Linked DNA regions of Homo sapiens: regions 1, 2, 3, 4, 5 and 6 are each linked to region 7. Evidence: promoter capture Hi-C in 16 types of primary human blood cells and fetal thymus (Javierre and others, 2016). All regions are on one chromosome and are shown on one strand. The core of a region is centred on a gene start or on the middle of the fragment in contact, and the rest is flanking DNA. Distances in the headings are between cores, read along the strand shown. Region 1 overlaps KARS1 (lysyl-tRNA synthetase 1). Region 2 overlaps CHST6 (carbohydrate sulfotransferase 6). Region 3 overlaps CFDP1 (craniofacial development protein 1). Region 4 holds the start of CFDP1 (craniofacial development protein 1). Region 5 overlaps CFDP1 (craniofacial development protein 1). Region 6 holds the start of ADAT1 (adenosine deaminase tRNA specific 1). Region 7 holds the start of MLKL (mixed lineage kinase domain like pseudokinase).

Region 1 (2,700 bases), core at 24-2,523, 940 kb before region 7:
CTGAAATTCTCCTTTCCCCTTGTTCCTAGAGTTCCAAACAAGTCTTCTCTTTGACACGTATTTTTGTGTGGCTTGCATTTATCTTTGTCTAGAGTTTGCAATTGATAGTGACAGTTTCCTCTTATTTTATATGCTTCCTATTGCCATCTTGTGGCCAGGTATTTCCTCTCCAGGTGAGAAACCACACTTCAGGGCTTCAGAAAGTGCCTCACATCCTGTTCCCATATTCTAGGATGTTGTGAGCAATTTTACCTGTAAGCTATCCATTAACTTGCTGTTGGCTTTACCCCAGATATGCATGTTTTTTCCATAGTCAGGACTAAGAACATTGTCAGTTACAGTTGTAGCACAGAGAGTGTTACAGGGTTGCTATCAGTTAAGACAGTCTTAAGTTAAATGGGACTAAAAGGTAGTAGAAGCATGGTCCCCCTCCCCAACCCATAAGAGAGTTGGTTGGGTATATGTATACTGTCTGTCCCATCTGACACCACATCTCTGTGTTTCCCGCTAGGTGGTGGTAATCATTAGTTCCAGGGTGCTCTGCCATGTTGACGCAAGCTGCTGTAAGGCTTGTTAGGGGGTCCCTGCGCAAAACCTCCTGGGCAGAGTGGGGTCACAGGGAACTGCGACTGGGTCAACTTGCTCCTTTCACAGCGCCTCACAAGGACAAGTCATTTTCTGATCAAAGAAGGTTGGTGCCCATTACCTTCTTTATTGCTCTGGAAGCAAAAATTATTTCCTTACTTGGTTCATTTTCCGTTAAGCCTCTGGCTAAGTCTTTGGACTTGTTGCTAAGGAAACAAGGAGCCCTAATACCAAAACCAATAGTCCTTTCTCATTTTCTCTTTAATAAATTCAAATCGTCTCTCCTTAGAGTCTTGAGATGACATGTGGATCTTATTCTAGAAGAGTGCTAAGAACAAAACCTTTGTTTGAACAAATAATTTCTAATGCCAGCTATTTCCCTTTTCTGTCTTTCTGGAGTTTTGTGTGCTCTTGAGATTAATTTGGTTTCTAGTCTTAGTGCTATCCCTAGGACCTTTTTGGATTATCCTTAAGATTGATTTGATTTAAGAGGAGCACCTGGTTGAGTGGAAAACAGATTTATCTTAATTCTAGAAGAACTAGACAGCCTAATCTTAGCAGTCCACTGACTGAATTATAGCATGATAACACCAGCACAGTGTTTTGGAAAGGTTGTCTTTACAAATGTTATAAGACATTATATGTAGAAAAAGCTGTCAACTTTGAAACCATTCAGAATCTGTTTTTCTTTTTTACAAGATGAAAGATTCGGCCAGGCGTGGTGGCTCACGCCTGTAATCCCAGCACTTTGGGAGGCCAAGACAGGCAGATCACGAGGTCAGGAGATCAAGACCATCCTGGCTAACACGGTGAAACCCCATCTTCACTAAAAATACCAAAAAAATTAGCCGGGCATGGTGGCGGGCACCTGTAGTCCCAGCTACTCCGGAGGCTGAGGCAGGAAAATGGTGTGAACCCGGGAGGCAGAGCTTACAGTGATCTGAGATCGCACCACTGCACTCCAGCCTGGGCAACACAGCGAGACTCTGTCTCAAAAAAAAAAAAAAAAGGTGAAAGATTCAAAACCTCAATTCATTTTTTAAAGTTATTCTAAATTCATATCGAAAATGAAGGATGTGTCCTGAAGCCAGAATGTTTGCGGGCATGACTTGGGATCTTCTGCTGTGGTTCACTATTGCAGAATATTTGATTATGTTCAGCGGTTTGAAAGAATGATCCATAAATTGTCTTTGAATAGTAAAGATATCCCTCCCTACACCAATCTGTTTAGTTTCTGGTTTCAGATAGCAAATTCAGACTATAAGAGACATGAACATATCATACAGAACAGCTCAGAGTTGTCCGCATTACTTTGGTTTTTCAGGTTCAAGTGATAAGTATCAAGAGTTTGGATACCAAGTGATTTAACCAGAAATGTATTTAAATCTATATGAGGCACAGAGAGTAAAGGGTTAAGATACTAAAAGATACCTAGAAAGCTCACATTTGGTTAGCTGAATGCCAGGGTCAGGGTAATCCCTTTATACAAACATTATCTCATTACACACCATAACAACTGGTGGGGGTTGTCTATTATTATTTTCGTTTCACAGGTGAGAAGTTAATTCACTCGTCCAAGTCACATAATTGACAAGTGTGTTGGAATTTAGTCCCAGGCAGCCTGACTACAAAGATGGTATATTACCCCCTGTACTATACTGCTTTGCACACCGTTCTATTTTGTTGTCTAAGTCAGGCTCCAGTGGGCAAAGTGAGACTAATGCTGACAGCCATTCTTGGAGAGACTGTTGGTAGGGGAGGTCTCCTTGAGTGCTAAAGAGCCGGCTCTTCCTTACTATCATCCTAACTCACTCTTAGGGGAGGGATAGAGAGAGGGGGTAGCAGAGGGCTGGAGATGTTGCCTTATCATGTATTAGATCTGGCATTGGAGGGGTCAGGTGGCTCACACCTGTAATCCTAGCACTTTGGGAGGCCAAGGTGGGCAGATCACTTGAGGAAAGGAGTTTGAGACCAGTCTGGCCAACGTGGTGAAACCTCGTCTCACTAAAAATACATAAATTAGTTGACTGTGGTGGTACACACCTGTAATCCCAGCTACTCAGGAGGCTGAGGCACGAGAATCTCTTGAAACCCGGGAGGCAGAGATTGCAGTAA
Region 2 (2,700 bases), core at 76-2,575, 770 kb before region 7:
AAGTAGAGTCTGTTTCTCCACCTCTGAATCCAGGCTGGTCCTGTGACTTGCTTTGTCCTGTAGACAAGTGTAGTGCAACTTCCTGTGAGCCAGTTTGAAGCATAGGCCTTGGAAGCAAAACTTTACCTCCACCTGTCTTAGGTTTTCAGCTGGGGCTCTGCTGTGATTTGATTGTGTCTCCCAAAGTTGGAACCTTGATCCCCAGTGTTGTGAGGTGAGGCTTGATGGAAAGTAAATTACGCCGTGCGGGTTATGCCCTTGTGAATGGGTAGAGAACATTATTTCTGGGCGCAGGCATGGTAGCTCATGTCTGTAATCCCAGCATTTTGGGAGGTTGAGGTGTGCGGATTACTTGAGGTCAGGAGTTTGAGACCAGCCTGGCCAACAAGGTAAAACACCATTTCTAGTTAAAATACAAAAATTAGCCAGGTGTGGTGGCACATGCCTGTAAGGCCAGCTACTTGGGAGGCTGAGACAGGAGAATCGCTTGAACCCAGGAGGCAGAGATTGCAGTGAGCTGAGATCGCACCACTGTACTCCAGCCTGGGCAACAAAGCGAGAGTCTGTCTTAAAAAAAACCACCATTATTTCAGGAGTGAGTTGGTTATCCTGAGAGTGGTGCCTTTTAAATGAAGGAGTTCATTCTTTGTCTTTCTCTCGCCCTCACTTTGCCCTTCTGCCATATGATGCCTTCCATCATGCTAGGACACAGCAAGAAGGCTCTCGCTAGATGCTGGCTCCTTGATCTTGGGCTTCCCAGCCTCCAGAACTGTAAGCCAATACACTTCTATTTATTATATATGACCCTTGCTGGGTTCAGTGGCTCACGCCTGTAATCCCAATACTTTGCAAGGCTGAGGCAGGAGGATCACTTGAGACCAGGCACTCAAGACCAGCCTGGGCAACATAGTGAGACCCCATCTCTACAAAGTTAAAAAAAAATTAGCAGGGCATGGTGTCGTGCACCTGTAGTCCTAGCTACTTGGGAGGCTGAGTTGGGAGGACTGCTTGACCCTGGGAGGTTGAGGCTACATTGAACCATGATCATGCCAGTGCACTCCAGCCTGAGTGACAGAGCAAGACACCTATCTCTAAATAAATGACCCCATCTGTGGTATTGTTATAGCAAAACAAAACAGATTAAGAGAGACTTTTTAATGAAAAGACAGATTCACAAAGAAAAACAATGTTTTTGTTTCTGTTTTTTTGAGGCAGAGTCTTGCTCTTGTCCCCCAGGCTGGAGTGCAGTGGCGCCATCTTGGCTCACTGCAACCTCCGCCTCCCAGTTTCAAGCGATTCTCCTGCCTCAGCCTCCCGAGTAGCTGGGATTACAGATGTACACCACCACGCCCGGCTAATTTTTTTTGTATTTTTAGTAGAGATGGGGTTTCACCATGTCGATCAGGCTGGGCTGGAACTCCTGACCTCAGGTGATCCACCTGCCTTGGCCTCCCAATGTGCTAGGATTACAGGCATGAGCCACTGTACCTGGCGAAAAACAGTTTGTTAACACAGGCAGCCAACATCACTCAGGATAAGCCTCAATGAAAAGTAACAAAGTGATGGCTTGGAACACTGTCTTACACAGCATTTTTAAAAAATACAATAAATTTGTAGAGATAGGATGACCAAGGACAACAGTTTTAGGCTTCCAAAGGTGGTAAACTATGGGATGGTAAATATCCGAGAGGAAGCTGATGCAACAGGATTTGTCTGCAGCAGCCTCTGGTACCACCTCTGAGTCAAGGGTTGTGTCCAGTGATGGAGAGTTTATATCGTGCCTTTAGGCAGAAAAGGGGAGGGAAACCTGAACTTTTCCTGCACTTTCTGCTTCTTAATTGCCTTCAGCTGAAAATCATTTTTTATGTGAAAAAGGCATAGTCTGAGCTGACGCCTCTGCTTTCCTCCACCTGAAGAGAACCTGCGTGCTGCTCCTTTGCTTCGGACCTCCGCCTCTGCCCGGGAGAAAGCCCAGGCCAGCCTGCTGGACAAGCAGAGACCATGAGAAGGAGAGTTCAGGGGTCCCAAACCAGGCCATCCTAGACCAGCCAGCTCCAGCTGATCCGCACGCAGCCACTTCGGCTACCTTCTACTGGCCAAAGGGAGTCCCAGGGCTCACCCAGATTCAGAGGTGGGGAAACTGAGTCCACCACTTGAGAAGAGTAGCTATAAAGACATATGAGCGAGGCCAGCTGAGCCCAGCACTGCGGCCAAGTCGAAGACTTTAGGAGCAATAAAAGTGCTTATTGTGTTTCAGTCATTTGAGTGTTGTGGTGGTTTGTTACGTAGCATTGCCTAACCGATACACTTGAGAACGGAGGGCTCCTGGCACCTGCAGCTTCCAATTTCCACCAGGGTCCAGGCTCCCTCCCTGCTGGTAGGGCTGTAATTAGTGTCTCCCCTTACCTGTAGGCCCTGTGATGCAGCTAGAAGTGTCTAGGCCCAGCAGTCACCCACAATTAGGGGCAGGCACGCTTGCTGCCTCTGCTCTGGCTGTGGGAGCTCAGAAGGGGCAATCAAAGCACTAGATGGGCTGATGGGTGCATAGAAACAGTGTTGCCTGGAATAGGTCAGAGAACCCACCTATCAAGAGGCTGTTGGGGAATCAATGGTGGGCCTTATTTTTGTTATTTTGCATCAAGAAGATATATTATCCACATCAACACTGTATCAACTCCTCATGGCCACCACAGACCCTGT
Region 3 (2,728 bases), core at 76-2,575, 690 kb before region 7:
TTCAGGCAATTCTCCTGCCTCAGCCTCCCTAGTAGCTGTGATTACAGGCGCCTGCCACTATGCCTGGCTAATTTTTTGTATTTTTAGTAGAGACAGGGTTTCACCATGTTGGCCAGGCTGGTCTCAAACTCATGACTTCGTGGTCCGCCTGCCTTGGCCTCCCAAAGTGCTGGGATTACAGGCATGGGCCACTGTGCCTGGTCTCCTCAAATTTTTTTTTTTAACTCTTGTTTTTCTCCTTGAAATAGTGCCAACCTAGGCATTATTTCCCAATTCTATAACCTATATTCCCAGTATTCCATCTCCCCATCTCAGCTTTCAAGGCTGAGTGCTAATCTGCATGTGGGGTGCAGTGTGAGGGCCTTTTTCAGCCTTCACATCAGTAAACCAGCATGGAGATTTAGTATTGACTGCTGCAGTGTGTTTCATGCTGAGAAGTCATGGAGGGGAGATGGACTGCATTTAAACAACATTCCTCAGGTGTTTTCGTTAACCTGGAAAGCCTAGGCAGGGATTAAACATTTCTCCTTCTCTCTTTATCTGAATTCTCAGGTACCATAAACACCTTTATTTGAACCTTTAGGACTCAGTTTTAGTGAAGATAATTGTTTCAGATTTGAAATTAGACAAAATTCTCAGTCATGTTGCTTTCGTCCATTCCCAAATTATTGCTAATTTAGCCAGTTTTAGGGGATTTTGTTTCATCTTTGGGTTGTTATAGGGTGATAAAATTTATACACATTGTTGTTTCATTTGTTAATTTTAGTGAGGGAAAATGTTTTTTTATTTTTTTTATTTTTTTGAGACGGTGTCTCGTGCTGTTGCCCAGGCTGGAGTGCAATGGCGTGATCTCGGCTCACTGCAACCTCTGCCTCCCGGGTTCAAGTGATTCTGCTGCCTCAGCCTCCCGAGTAGCTGGGACTACAGGCGCCCGCCACCACGCCCAGCTAATTTTTATATTTTTAATAGAGACGGGATTTCACCATGTTGGCCAGGATAGTTTCGATCTCTTGACCTTGTGATCCGCCTGCCTCGGCCTCCCAAAGTGCTGGGAGTACAGGCGTGAGTCACCACGCCCGGCTGGGCAAATGTCTTTATTGAAAGTTATAGTAAACTTTTATCATAATGCTGAGCGTCCAGAATTTATTGGAAGCCGAGTGGATCTTTTTCTAGTTGTCTTTATTCCCTTTTCTAGCTTGTTTCTTTCTCTTTATTCTTCTTGTAAGCTTGATGTCTTTTTCCTTGGCACAGGGTAACTAAGGAAGTGGATGCTACATCTAAAGAGGCCAAATCCTTCTTCAAGCAGAATGAGAAAGAAAAACCACAGGCTAATGTTCCTTCAGCTCTGCCATCACTCCCTGCCGGGTCAGGGTGAGTATTTGAGTCTCACTCCCTGATGTACTTGGCACGTTGGAGAAGCTTTCAGTGCAAATACCTACTTTCGCTGCAGATCAGACTCCTTGCCTGAGAGAGAGAATTATGATGCTGCTTTGCCTTTGCTGCAATATTTACCAGAATGGAAGATGCAAAGGAAAATTAGCCATAACTTTCTCAGGAGGATTGCTTGAACCCAGGAGTTTGTGACCAGCCTGGGCAATACAGTAAGACCCTGTCTCTTAAAAAAAAAAAAATTAGCTGGGCATGGTGGCTTGCACCTCTGTCCTAGCTACTGTGGAGGCTGAGGCAGGAGGATCCCTTGAGCCCAGAAGGTTGAGGCTGCAGTGAGCCGTGATTGTGCCACTGCACTCCAGCCTGGGTGACAGAGAGATCCTGTCTCTTAAAAAAAAAAAAAAAAAAAAAAAGCGAAGAAAATTAGTTGTAGCTTTCTTATTTGTTGCCAGCCTAAAAGAAGTCCTAGTTTATAGTATTGAACACAAAGCTGAACGTGTAAATTTTACATTTAAAAATAATACTTTTCAAATGAAAATATCAGCCTTCTGCAGAACTTTTCATGAAGATTTGCGATGAACACTCACTCCCATCCTCTGTGATCTTAGAGGAACATAAAAAGATCAAAGATGATTTACAAATAGTTTTCTTAACACATTGTCAGGAACTTAATGGTTTTCCTCCCTTCATATTTTTCATATTACTTGAGTTATTTTTAGCTGAAGGCTAGAATTCTTTCTTTTTGGAAGAAGTAAAAATTCTTTTCTTAACCTAAATGTGAGAAGTAAAGTATTACAGTAAATCAGAGAGGCTTAAGACTGTTGCCACAGGGAAGTGAACATAGACCCATACCATGGATAGCCCTGACTACCCACCTGACTCCTGTGGGGAGTTCTGCATAGTCTCCTACAGTGGCTTCTGTGGCCCTTCAGTCAGATATTGTCCCCTCTTCCTTCCCTCCTGGAGCATACCTGTCATTGCTATGAGCAGTAAAGTTTTGTTTCACATTTTTTTTTTGAGGTGGAGTCTCGCTCTGTCACCCAGGCTGCAGTGCAGTGGCGCAATCTCGGCTCACTGCAAGCTCCGCCTCCCGGGTTCATGTCATTCTTCTGCCTCAGCCTCCTGAGTAGCTGGGACTACAGGTGCCAACACGCCCGTCTAATCTTTTGTATTTTTAGTAGAGACGAGGTTTCACTGTGTTAGCCAGGATGGTCTTGATCTCCTGACCTCGTGATCTGCCCTCCTTGGCTTCCCAAAGTGCTAGGATTACAGGCGTGAGCCACCGGGCCCGGCCCCACTTTTTTTTTTTTTTTTTTTTTTTTTTTTTTTTTTTTGCGAC
Region 4 (2,727 bases), core at 101-2,600, 730 kb before region 7:
TTCTGCCCTGGAGACAGTGTTCAGCTTCTGGGATGAAGCAGTTGTGGAACCAATCAGACATCATCCACACTTTTTTGTTCCACCTCCAATAGACTGGCAGATGGTTCACGTATTTCCCGTTAAGTGCTTGTGGATTTTGGGTTCTTTACACCATTAGGAGTTTGCACTTTAGTCGCTCTTGGCATTGGCGCACAATAACAAGGGTGCATGATCCTGGCATGATTTAAAGCCAGGGGCTTTGGAGGCCGTTTGCATTATATAGGTTCGTTTGCCAACATCCTTGTAAAATAAGCCAGTCTCATCCGCATTGAAAACCTGCTCTTTCACATAACCCTTTTCCTGTATAACACTTAGCAAGTATTTTTAAAATTCTTCCGCAGCCTCCTGATCTGCAGAGCTCGCCTCACCTGCAAGTTTAACATTTTTCACCCCGTATCGCCTTTTGAAACGCGCGAGCCGGCCAGCACTCGCCGAGAAGGGCTTAGCATTTCTTTGACTCTGGGTAACGTGACCACAGATATCTTTGGCTTTCAGCCTCACCACAATGCTGTCCACTATGTTTTTTTTAATCGATTGACATCTCATGAATCCACAAATTTAGCCGCTTTTCCATCTTTTCCATCTTTGTCATAGCTTCATCACGCACGATGGAGGTCACTTCAGCACTATCCGGAGCGGCCTCACGGACAGATCGGTGAATTTCCTTTTCCTTTTTCTTGATGTACCGGATTGTCGACTCGTTAACATTGAGCTCATGGCCAACAGCACTGTAACTCATGCCTGATTGGAGCTTATCCAACACGCGGACTTTCTCCGTAAGGCACATCACGGTCTTCTTTCGCTTAGGAACACTGGGCAGAGCTTAAGCACTACGCTTGGGGGCCATTTTAGAAAGCAAAACCACCCACAAAAAGCAGAAAAAAAAGTGTCAGTAAACAGACTGCGGAAAGGACTCTTTGTTTACAGCACAGGAGCTGCGACTAGAAGGCGGCGCTTCTCCCAGTTCAAACTTCAGCTGGGAACCTTACCTCCGCCAACTCCAAATTTTCACCCTCTGCGCATGCCCGGGAAGAACCCCAGACAGTACCGTGATGATTGATTTTAGGGTTACAAATACATTTTAGCAAGTAAGTGAATTTGGCATTACGAATTAATGATTAATGAAGGTCACCTGTATTTCCATAGATATGTAATTTTATTTAAGCAGGTTTATTATATTAAGGCGGCGAGGCAGCGCCGAAGACTACAAGTTCCAGCATGCACCGCGTCCGGGCGGGTTCGGGCTCCCAGCGAGGGCTTCAGGGACGCCAGCCCGGAGGCATCGGCCGGAAGTGTCGTAGGGCAACCACGTAGTACTCTCTGCGCATGTGCAAAGCGCTGTCGGGGGCCGCCCTAGCTGCCGTCGCCGCCGCCGGGGCTCTATGGTCTCTCCCTAGAGCTTTGCCGTTGGAGGCGGCTGCTGCGGTCTTGTGAGTTTGACCAGCGTCGAGCGGCAGCAACATGGAGGAATTCGACTCCGAAGACTTCTCTACGTCGGAGGAGGACGAGGACTACGTGCCGTCGGGTGAGCGATTCCGCCTGAGGCGAGAAGCGAATTGCCCCGCCCCACGCCTCACGTGAGGCGCGCTCTGCCCCCGCGGGCGTCTGCCCTGTGGCCCAGGTGGTCCAGGGGGGCTCCTGTTCTCGAGCGTCCGCTCCCTCAGGCCCCTCATCCTCGGCCGCTCCGGCCCGAGGCGTGTGCGCGTGGCGGTTCTGTGCTCCCCTCCCGTTGGGCAGCTCCGGCCGCCGCCCCCTCTTGCAGCGCGGGAACCGGCACATGGACACGGCCCCTTGTCGCTAGGGACGCTCGTCGGTCAGCCCCGAACGACACCGCTGCTTCAGAAGTCGGGGCGGCAGTCCGAGCCTTGGAGGTTTTTTTCAGCCCTGGCCCGAGAGAGCTGCTGGCCACCACCCCGTCCAAGATAGAGCTGTCCGCTCTCCGCCTGGTTGTTAGAAAGTTCTGATAGAAAGTTCCCCCTTTGATGCTTTTTGCCTCATTGTGACGTCCACCCATCCTCTCCTCTCAGAACTTTCTTTCCTTAGGGATCTCAACCCGAACGGGGTGAGAATGAATCTTACTGAAGAAATCTTTCTGTTCCCCCTTCTTGGTCTTCCCCAGACAAACCGTCTCGTTGAAAGTATCTTCACCCATTCACATCTTCAGTTGAAAGACTAGACAAACAAGAAACAAACAGACTAACAAAACACAACCCAGGAGTCGTCCCTATTCTCTTTGTTTTACTTTGTTCTGTTCTGTTTTATTTAAAGACAGGGTCTTGCTGTTGTCTAGGCTGGAGTGCAGTGATGCGATCTTGGCTCACTGCAACCTCAGACTCCTGGGCTCAAGCGATCCTCCCGTCTCAGCCTCTGGAGTAGCTGGGACTGCAGGTGCAGGCTGCCACGCCCGCTAATTTTTTAAATTTTTTTTTTTTTTTTTTTTTTTAGAAATGGCATCTTGCTATGTTGCCCAGGCTGGTCTCGAACTCGTGGGCTCAAGTGATCCTCCCACCTCAGCCACCCAAAGTGCTGGGATTACAGGCATGAGCCACCGCGCCCCGGCTAGTGAAGTATTTCTAAAAGGCACGTTGAAAACTAGCCATTCCATTCCTGGCGCGGTGGCTCATGCTTGTAATCCCAACACTTTGGGAGGCTGAGGTGGGTGGATCACAAGGTCTGGAGATCGAGACC
Region 5 (2,700 bases), core at 2-2,501, 710 kb before region 7:
GAGTATCACAACAGTACTGTTTGTAATGACTCCAAATTGGAAACAACCTAGTTGTGCATCAGCAGTAGAATGAATAAACGGATTATGGTATAGTCATACAATGACACACTATTTACTGTTCAGGAGTGAGAATGAATAAACTACAGCTACACTGCAACAATGTGGGTGACTCTCACAAACATAATGTTGAATAAAAGAAGCCAGACACAGAAGAGTACACACTGCAGGCTTCTGTTGAAAGTTGAAAAGCAGGCAAAACTAACCCGTGACTTTAGAAGTCAGGATATTGGTTCCCTTTAGGGGTAGGGCAGTTGTTAGTGACTGGAAGGGAGCACAGGGGGCCTTCTGGGATGCTGCTAATGTTCAGTTCCTCGAGCTGGGGCCCTGGTTATGCAAGTGTGTTCACTGTGTGTCATTCCATTGAACTGTATATTAGATTTGTGTGCTTTTTGGTATGTACACTTCAATTGAAAGTTTATATGAAGTAAAAGAGGAAAAAGGTAGTGGAATCTCTGTGTGGGCAGGGTTGGTTTATTGACTGGTACCCACAGCATGTGGTCAGACATCCAAGCAACACTCTTTTGTTGGGGACCCTTGAATGTCAGTGTCTGACAATGGGACATGGGTGTGTTTGTTCTTTCTGCTATGTTTAACTGGAAGTCTTTAGGTTTCCTTTTAAACTTCTTTTATTGAGAAGACAAAGTGTTTTTTAAATTAGATTTGAAAGATACCCAAGATGAGGTAGTGCATCAGTTTCTTCTTTGAGAAACACATTAGTAGAATTGAAATTTCTGTTCATTCACTCATTCATTTAGTGAATACTTAAAAGTCACAATGAACAGGGTTTATGTCCTCTTGGAGTATACAGCACAGCAGAAATTACCAACATTAAATATAAGTGGGATGAGTTTTGGAGGGGAAATAGAGACTGCCATGGAAGCCTACGATAGAAGAACGTAGGGTAGTCTTCAGGGGCAGAGAAGACTTCCCCAAGGAAATGATGTTTTCGTTAGGTGAAGAGTAGGGGAAAATTCACTTTTTCTTAATGAAAATGTCTCGGTGTGAAAGCTTGTATTAATGAAAATGTCTCATCTTGATGTGAAAACCTTTATTCCTGTCTGATCACCCTGTTATGTGATTTCAGGTGGAGAGTATAGTGAAGATGATGTAAATGAATTAGTGAAGGAAGATGAAGTGGATGGTGAAGAGCAGACACAGAAAACCCAAGGGAAAAAAAGAAAGGCCCAGAGCATTCCAGCCAGGTGATGCTGCCTTCAAGGCCCTTAGAAGTTAGGGGCTATTGTCACAACCATCCTGATTGCTAAGATTGGTCTCATGATAGATTTAATGAAGCCAGAGTTTCTAACCCTTTTCTCTTTGAGGGAAACATTTGCTGTTATTTTAGGATTAACTTCTTGGTCTCTGGAAAGCTTTAAACATTTTGAGCTTTAATGTAAAGAAAATGTTAATAGGTAATATGTACATATGGTTAGAACAGAAAATTCAGTCCCTGAAAAGATGTTTACCCTGTTCCTAGACCTTGTTGCTTTGCCTCTGAAGAACTATGCTACCAGAGATAGTCTGTGCATGCAAATGCATATATGTCTATATTTTCTTCATTTTTTTTTTAGAAAAAAAATATAAATAGTAGCATACTCACTTTCTCATTTTCATTTCTCTTTATTTCACATCTTGGAGATAGTACCATGGCAGTATCTCCTCCTTTTCATAGTATTACGTTATGTGAATAGGCCTTACTTTATTTAGGCTTTCCTGTATCGAGGGATGTTTAGATTGTATCTAGTCTTTACTACAACAAAGAAGAGTGCAGTGAATATTCTTTGTATACATGTATACAAAGTATACATAAATATATAAATGTATATAATGTATACATGTATAAATATATCTGTAAATGTAACATTTAGAAGTGGAATTGTTTGATCTAAGGTTATATATGCAATTAAATTTTAAAAATACAGATATTAGCCCATTGCCTGGCATAGGCCTGGTATGGGCTTCTTTTCCCATGAAAATTATGAAAATTCTGACAGGTTATTTAACTTAGATAAGGGCATCTTCCATAGAAGTCTTTTACCTCACTTGGGTGTTTCTGTCTTCCTGGGCATTGAAGCAAAAAGCAGATTATCATTTATGAAAAAGAAAAAAGAATGTAGATATTAGATTGATTCACCTAAAGTCAAAATAGTCTAAGAAGCAATATACTCTTATAAGTCTTGGGCCCAGTTTTTTTGTCCTTGAATTTTTTTTTTTTTTTTTTTTTTTTGAGACAGAGTCTCGCCCTGTTGCCTAGGCTGGAGTGCAGTGGCGTGATCTCTGCTCAATGCAACCTCCGCCTCCTGGGTTCAGTTCCCTGCCTCAGCCTCCGAGTGGCTGGATTATAGGCACCCACCAACATGCCCGGCTAATTTTCTCATCTTGTTGTGATGAAAGTTTATATGAAGTAAAAGAGAAAAAAGGTAGTGGAATCTCTGTGTGGGCCTTGGCCTCCCAGAGTGCTGGGATTACAGGTGTGAGCCACTGCGCCTGGCCTGTCCTTGAATTTTTCTATGTTCCAGCTCTCAGTTCTTCCGAAAGTGGGAAGAAACATGGATTTTTTTCTTTTTCCTTGAGAACTCTTGGAAGAAATAGTGCAAATAAAGTTGAGGCTCTTCTAAATAGAACTTGTTCTACAAATGG
Region 6 (2,740 bases), core at 236-2,735, 920 kb before region 7:
TAAATTTTTGAGGGGTAACAAAGAAAAATGAATTCTTTCATTTTTAGTAATAGAGCATTCAGTTACTGGGTGACAAAGGCCCCTGAAGTATCCAGGCAGCTATATTACTTATTCCCGGCAATCCAAAGGTTTTTAGACCTGTTCTGCCCACTACACTGTAGTAGTACTGTACTACAGTAGCCAGTAGCCACATGTGACTATCCAGCATCTGAAATGTGGCTGATCCAAATTGGGATGTATTCTAAGTGTAACACACACCAGATTTCTTAAACTTCGCATTAAAAACAGAACAGAACATAAGTATTTTTTAAAATATTGAGACTCGGCAGCCAGGTGCGGTGGCTCACGCCTGTAATCCAGCACTTTGGGAGGCCGAGGCGGGCAGATCACGAGGTCAGGAGATCGAGACCATCCTGGCTAACATGGTGAAACCCCGTATCTACTAAAAATACAAAAATTAGCCTGACGTGGTGGCAGGCACCTGTAGTCCCAGCTACTCGCGAGGCTGAGGCAGGAGAATGGCGTGAACCTGGGAGGCGGAGCTTGCAGTGAGCAGAGATTGCGCCACTGCACTCCAGCCTGGGTGACAGAGCGAGACTCCGTCTCAAAAAAAAAAAAAAAAAAAAAAAAAATATATATATATATATATATGAGACAGACAGACCGACCCCGGGCATCGTGACTCACGCCTGTAATCCCAGCACTCTGGGAGGTTGAGGCGGGCGGATCACTTGAGGTCAGGAGTTCGAGACCAGCCTGGTAACATGGCGAAACCCCGTCTCTACTAAAAATAACAAAAATGAGCCGGGTGTGATGGCGGGCGCCTGTAATCCCAGCTACTTGGGAGGCTGAGGCAGGAGAATCGCTTGAAGCCAGGAGACGGAGGTTGCAGTGCGCCGAAATTGCGCCGCTTCCAGCCTGGGCGACAAAGCGAGACTCCATCTCAAAAAATTTTTTGATTATATGTTGAAATAATACTATTTGGGATGTATGGGTTAAATAAAATATATATGATTGTTTCTATTTTGACTTTTAATGAGGCTACTGGAAATTTTTAAATTACGTATATGGTTCGAATTATATATCTATTGGACAGTGATGTTACAGATAGAAATACAGCATAGTCAGGAGAATCGCTTGAACCGGGAGGCGAAGGTTGCAGTGAGCCGAGATCGCGCCTCTACACTCCAGCCTGAGCAACAGAGCAAGACTCCGTCTCAAAAAAAAAAAAGAAAAAGAAAAAAATTCAGCCGAGTGCTGCAAGATACGTCATTCTAGTTGAAGGAATATCTAAGCCAACAAGCGGCTCCCATCATCCGGTTTCACGCCTCTCTAAGACGCAGCCAGGGCTGCGGGACTTGAAGCGCGGGAATCTCGGCCCTGGCACCGACTCCCCGGAAAAACTACAGGGCCCGGCATGCACTGCGCGCCTCTGGGAGCGGGAGCCGAAAGGAACCGGCGCTTTGTGACGTCACGTCCGCCTTACCGGCGGATTAAGCTCGCTTTCTTCTAGGCGCGTTTCCTGAAGGTGGGAGGGGAGCGTCCGCGAGGCGCTGGGGCGACGGGGCAGGTTTATCCGGGCTAACTTTGCCGAGTCTGTTTTTGAGGGAAGAGGTTGTGAGGATCGTATCTTCCGGGACGCGTTTCACGTGGGAAGGCGCTCCACGCCTGGAACTGTCAGCAGCCGGCGCCTGAAGAGCTCCTGGCGCGGGGCCTCTGGCCTGGCAGCCGCAGGACCCAATGGATCAGGCGCTCACGCTGTTCTCACTGCATGGCTTCAGTGCCTTGCCTGGCACCTCCTATCCTGTAACTGGCCGACTCGGGGTCCCACCCAGGCTTCTCCAGCGGCCGGGAAGGGGCTCTGCTTCCGGAAGTGTTTAGGAAGGGAGCCAGCGTAAACCAGAGTCCCTTCCTCCAAGCATCGCTGAAGCCTTTTCTCCCCTGGCAGCCGACTTCCTTTTCTTTGGAAAGGACGTCAGTTTTTTTAGCTTGTTGAAACTGTTCAGAGATGCGGTCTTGTGGGCAAATAAATGCCTGTTTAGCTGAGCTGTTATTTTCAGCTAAGAAGTTCTTCAAGTTTTCAAGATCTAGGAGGGGGTGTAGGCTCGAATTATAATGGACCCAGTGTAGCAAAACATTTATTCATTTAAACAATTGTGCATGCTCATTCAGACGCACTACCTGAGTGAGATGATGCCGTTCTGGGCTGCTTCATCTTAAAGAGAGTCACTGTTTCTTCTGGCAACTTCTACCTGCCTTGCCTATCGAGGTTTGTGAATTGCACCTCTGGTTTAATTTCAGGTCGATGGCCAGGTGGTCTTCATAAACTATACTGCCTTGTGATGCCTCCCTAGAAATGAGAGGTGAGTCCCTTCCAAACGAGGATTCTAGGATCTCATGCTTTCTTTTCTTGACAAGGCTTGCCCTGGCCCTCTGACTTTCAAGTCACAGGGTCTCACTTCCTGCAGATTTTTGTTTTAAATCACTGTGGTCTGATTTACCAGTAGCATTCACTACAGTAGCGAGCCTGCACGTTGCGCTGCAGGGGATTCATAACAATACCATCTTTCAAAAGCTGCATGCACTGGAGCTCAGGAAAGCCTTTTTTGTTTTTTTGAGAGGGAGTCTCGCTCTGTCACCCAGCCTGGAGTGCAGTGGCACAATCTCGGCTCATTGCGACCTCCGCCTCCCGGGTTCAAGCGATTCTCCTGCCTCAGCCTCCCGAGTAGCTGGGACTACA
Region 7 (2,700 bases), core at 173-2,672:
GTATACCCATCCTGCAGCTGCTATGAGTGTTGACAGCTAAACACTCACACAGCTTCCCCCTCGTCCAGAAGAATTGCCCTGGGCAGAAAGGAGGCTGCCTCTTGTTCCAGACCTTCACATTCCAGACCTCCCCATGGAGCCTCCACTGACTACATACTTGTTTCACTTTTTCTTCCTCTGCCCTATCATACCCACCACTCTCCTAAGAGTCTTCCTTCAATAAATCACAGGCACCTGTGTTACTTGTTGAAGGTGTCCAGGTTCTTGGCATCTTGAACAAAGAAATGGGCAAAATGCACAAAGCAAGGAAAGAATGAGGCAACAAAAGCAGAGATGTATTGAAAACAAAGGTACACTCCACAGGGTGGGAGCCAGCGTGAGCATAGGGGCTCAAGAACTCCGTTACAGAATTTTCTGGGATTTAAATACCCTCTAGAGGCTCCCATTGGTTAATTGGTGTACACCCTATGTAAATGAAGAAGATGAAGTGAAGTTGCTCAGTCACTTACTCAGTGAACGCCATATGTAAATGAAGAAAATATTTCCTGTCATAGCTGAAATGTGTCCATTTTATTTAGTTCTAAGAAGTCAGCGTGAATCAGCTTTATGTTCCCTGCCTGCAGACCCTATTCTCCTGCCTCACCTCAATCTCTTCACCTAAGACAGGAAGAAAACTGATGATGCAGGAGACGAAGAACAATAGCAAGGCGAAGAAATGAATCTCCAAGGCCGGCTTCAAGCGATTCTCCCCTCTCAGGCTCCCGAGTAGCTGGGATTACAGGCATGCACCACCACGCCTGGCTAATTTTTGTATTTTTAGTAGAGACAGGGTTTCCCCATGTTGGCCAGGATGGTCTTGAACTCCTGACCTCAGGTGATCTGGCCACCTCCGCCTCCCAAAGTGCTGGAATTACAGGCATGAGCCACCACACCCAGCTCCCAGTTCTGTTCTTTTAGAGGCAAATAGTCTGTTGAGTAAATGCATAACACTACTTAGACTTTCTAGCTGAAGATGTAGTTAATCTTAAGAAAACCTGACTCACACTGTAACAGGATGTTCTGCAATGACCTTAGAAGAGGAAGTGACTTTTTTCCCACTTTGGTGTCTCTTCCCTCGTACCCTCCCCACCCCGCCAATATTATCCAGCACAGAGAAGCAAACACCAGAAGCTTCTCTCCAACTTTCAGTTTTTCTCTAAACTTCCAGTCCTTCTCATACTGTGTCCTGGTTATAATAGTTGCTGGGACCTTATTCTATTCTGAATCCCCAGCCCCTAAAGAAGGCTTGGTACTGACGTGTACAGCGTAGTTACCCAGTGACTTTGGGGAAGGCAGGAAGAGTGTGGAAAGGACAGGAGGAAGGAAGGGAGGGGCCGTGGCTCCGAGCTGCCTAGAAAGCGGCTCCAGGGAGCCAGGGCACCGTGAGCCTGGTGGTTGGCAGCTGGAGCCACGTCGGAGGGGGAAGTGTCGCAGCATTCTCTGCAGGCATCACAGACCTGAGGCAGTGGCCTCCGGAGGGCACTGGACAGAAACAGCCATCCAAGTGGCTGAGTGGAGGGACCCTGCTCAAGTGCAGCTGCAGTGGCCGGGGTTTCCCTCAGGTAGGGATCGGGGCGCCTTGTCGCCGCCAGCCACGTGTGGCGTCCGGTACAGTCAGCAGAGTGCAGGGTGCGGGCACCAGGAAAGGGGGCGCAGGGGAACTCCCGCGGGCCTCGCGTTTGCAAACTTCTCGCCTGGGCAGGAGGCGGTCGTGGGAAAGAAGGTGGAAGAGCGAGCTTTTTGGAACTGTGCACGGGACAGATTGGACGCACACCCCTCGGGAGGCGCGAAGGTGAGCATGGGGTCTTCCCAGGAGGCGGCGGGGCCGAGGGGCTGCAGCCGAATTCCTGGACGGTGATGGGAAGAACCAGGGGTGAGGGTGGCCCGGTCCGAGTTCCTGGAACTCAGGACCGAGTTGGTTTCATTTCCTCAGCTCTGATGGTGGAGCTGCCTGCTCGGATCTCGCACTACCTTCCGCCAAAGCGAGACGCCCAGTAGCAGTGGGGGTCGTGGAGGGCAGGGGCACGGGAACAAGTTACCTGATGTCTTCTCAGAAAAAGGAAGTCTTCAGGTTTGCAGGCTGAAGGCGTGAGAGAGAGACAGAGTGAGAGAGAGAGAAGAGGGAAATGCCTGATAACCTTTACTTATTTTATTTTATTTTTATTTTTTATTTTTTGGAGGGAAGAGGTGAATTTGCATTGTTATTACCATTTAAAGATTTTTCACTTTTAAAATTAGTAACCTGTTTTCTCATCGTAACATATGAACATAATCCCCTTTTTCTTTTTATTTATTTATTTTGAGAGATGGAGTCTTCCTCTGTTGCCCAGGCTGGAGCGCAGTGGCACAATCATAGCTCACTGCAGCCTCCGAACTCATGGGCTCAAGTGATCCTCCAACCAGATCCTCCCAAGTAGCTAGGACTACAAGGTGCACATCACCACACCCAATTAAATTTTTTTTGTATTTTTTGGTAGAGCCAGGGTCTCGCTTTGTCACCCAGGCTGGTCTCAAACTCCTGGGCTCAGGTGATCCTCCTACCTCACCCTCCCAAAGTGCTGGGATTACAGGTGTGAGCCACTGCAGCTGGCCTGAACATATTCTTAGCTGTTTGTTTTACATATTATAAATAGCACTGCAGTGAACATCTCGGTAGCCATC

The links. The method cuts DNA at HindIII sites, captures the fragments that hold promoters and counts their contacts. A CHiCAGO score of 5 or more calls a contact.
Region 1: a fragment that was not itself captured here is called in contact with the fragment with the promoter of MLKL in region 7 in 1 of 17 cell types (monocytes); the score reaches 8.8 in monocytes.
Region 2: a fragment that was not itself captured here is called in contact with the fragment with the promoter of MLKL in region 7 in 2 of 17 cell types (neutrophils and total CD4 T cells); the score reaches 5.7 in neutrophils.
Region 3: a contact is called between a fragment that was not itself captured here and the fragment with the promoter of MLKL in region 7, in 1 of 17 cell types (fetal thymus). The highest score is 6.9, in fetal thymus.
Region 4: the fragment with the promoter of CFDP1 here is called in contact with the fragment with the promoter of MLKL in region 7 in 12 of 17 cell types (fetal thymus, activated CD4 T cells, non-activated CD4 T cells and 9 more); the score reaches 13.3 in fetal thymus.
Region 5: a contact is called between a fragment that was not itself captured here and the fragment with the promoter of MLKL in region 7, in 1 of 17 cell types (total CD8 T cells). The highest score is 5.5, in total CD8 T cells.
Region 6: the fragment with the promoter of ADAT1 here is called in contact with the fragment with the promoter of MLKL in region 7 in 1 of 17 cell types (naive CD8 T cells); the score reaches 5.4 in naive CD8 T cells.

The regions. Positions count from the first base shown.
Region 1 is chr16:75,642,274-75,644,973 of GRCh38, reverse strand. The region is part of intron 1 of KARS1 (lysyl-tRNA synthetase 1); the gene reads left to right. Among named protein-coding and RNA genes, the nearest start is that of KARS1, 4.0 kb to the left of the region's middle. The HindIII fragment of the contact is 3,555 bases long and covers 1-2,700 here.
Region 2 is chr16:75,472,684-75,475,383 of GRCh38, reverse strand. It overlaps CHST6 (carbohydrate sulfotransferase 6), which reads left to right. Exons shown (of 3, transcript NM_021615.5): 3 at 1-2,700. Among named protein-coding and RNA genes, the nearest start is that of TMEM170A, 9.3 kb to the right of the region's middle. The HindIII fragment of the contact is 3,555 bases long and covers 1-2,700 here.
Region 3 is chr16:75,393,733-75,396,460 of GRCh38, reverse strand. CFDP1 (craniofacial development protein 1) reads left to right here. Exons shown (of 7, transcript NM_006324.3): 5 at 1,252-1,371. Among named protein-coding and RNA genes, the nearest start is that of CFDP1, 38 kb to the left of the region's middle. The HindIII fragment of the contact is 193 bases long and covers 1,229-1,421 here.
Region 4 is chr16:75,432,126-75,434,852 of GRCh38, reverse strand. It overlaps CFDP1 (craniofacial development protein 1), which reads left to right and starts at 1,350. Exons shown (of 7, transcript NM_006324.3): 1 at 1,350-1,564. The coding sequence starts at 1,501. RefSeq lists enhancers at 744-1,311, 855-1,364 and a silencer at 1,675-1,914. The HindIII fragment of the contact is 10,360 bases long and covers 1-2,727 here.
Region 5 is chr16:75,413,140-75,415,839 of GRCh38, reverse strand. It overlaps CFDP1 (craniofacial development protein 1), which reads left to right. Exons shown (of 7, transcript NM_006324.3): 2 at 1,145-1,262. Among named protein-coding and RNA genes, the nearest start is that of CFDP1, 19 kb to the left of the region's middle. The HindIII fragment of the contact is 362 bases long and covers 1,071-1,432 here.
Region 6 is chr16:75,622,026-75,624,765 of GRCh38, reverse strand. It overlaps ADAT1 (adenosine deaminase tRNA specific 1), which reads left to right and starts at 1,485. Exons shown (of 10, transcript NM_001324445.2): 1 at 1,485-2,363. RefSeq lists enhancers at 1,172-1,691, 1,571-1,810, 1,692-2,211, 2,212-2,731, 2,732-2,740. The HindIII fragment of the contact is 8,287 bases long and covers 1-2,740 here.
Region 7 is chr16:74,699,584-74,702,283 of GRCh38, reverse strand. MLKL (mixed lineage kinase domain like pseudokinase) reads left to right here and starts at 1,422. Exons shown (of 11, transcript NM_152649.4): 1 at 1,422-1,831. RefSeq lists an enhancer at 1,519-1,968. The HindIII fragment of the contact is 1,546 bases long and covers 1,173-2,700 here.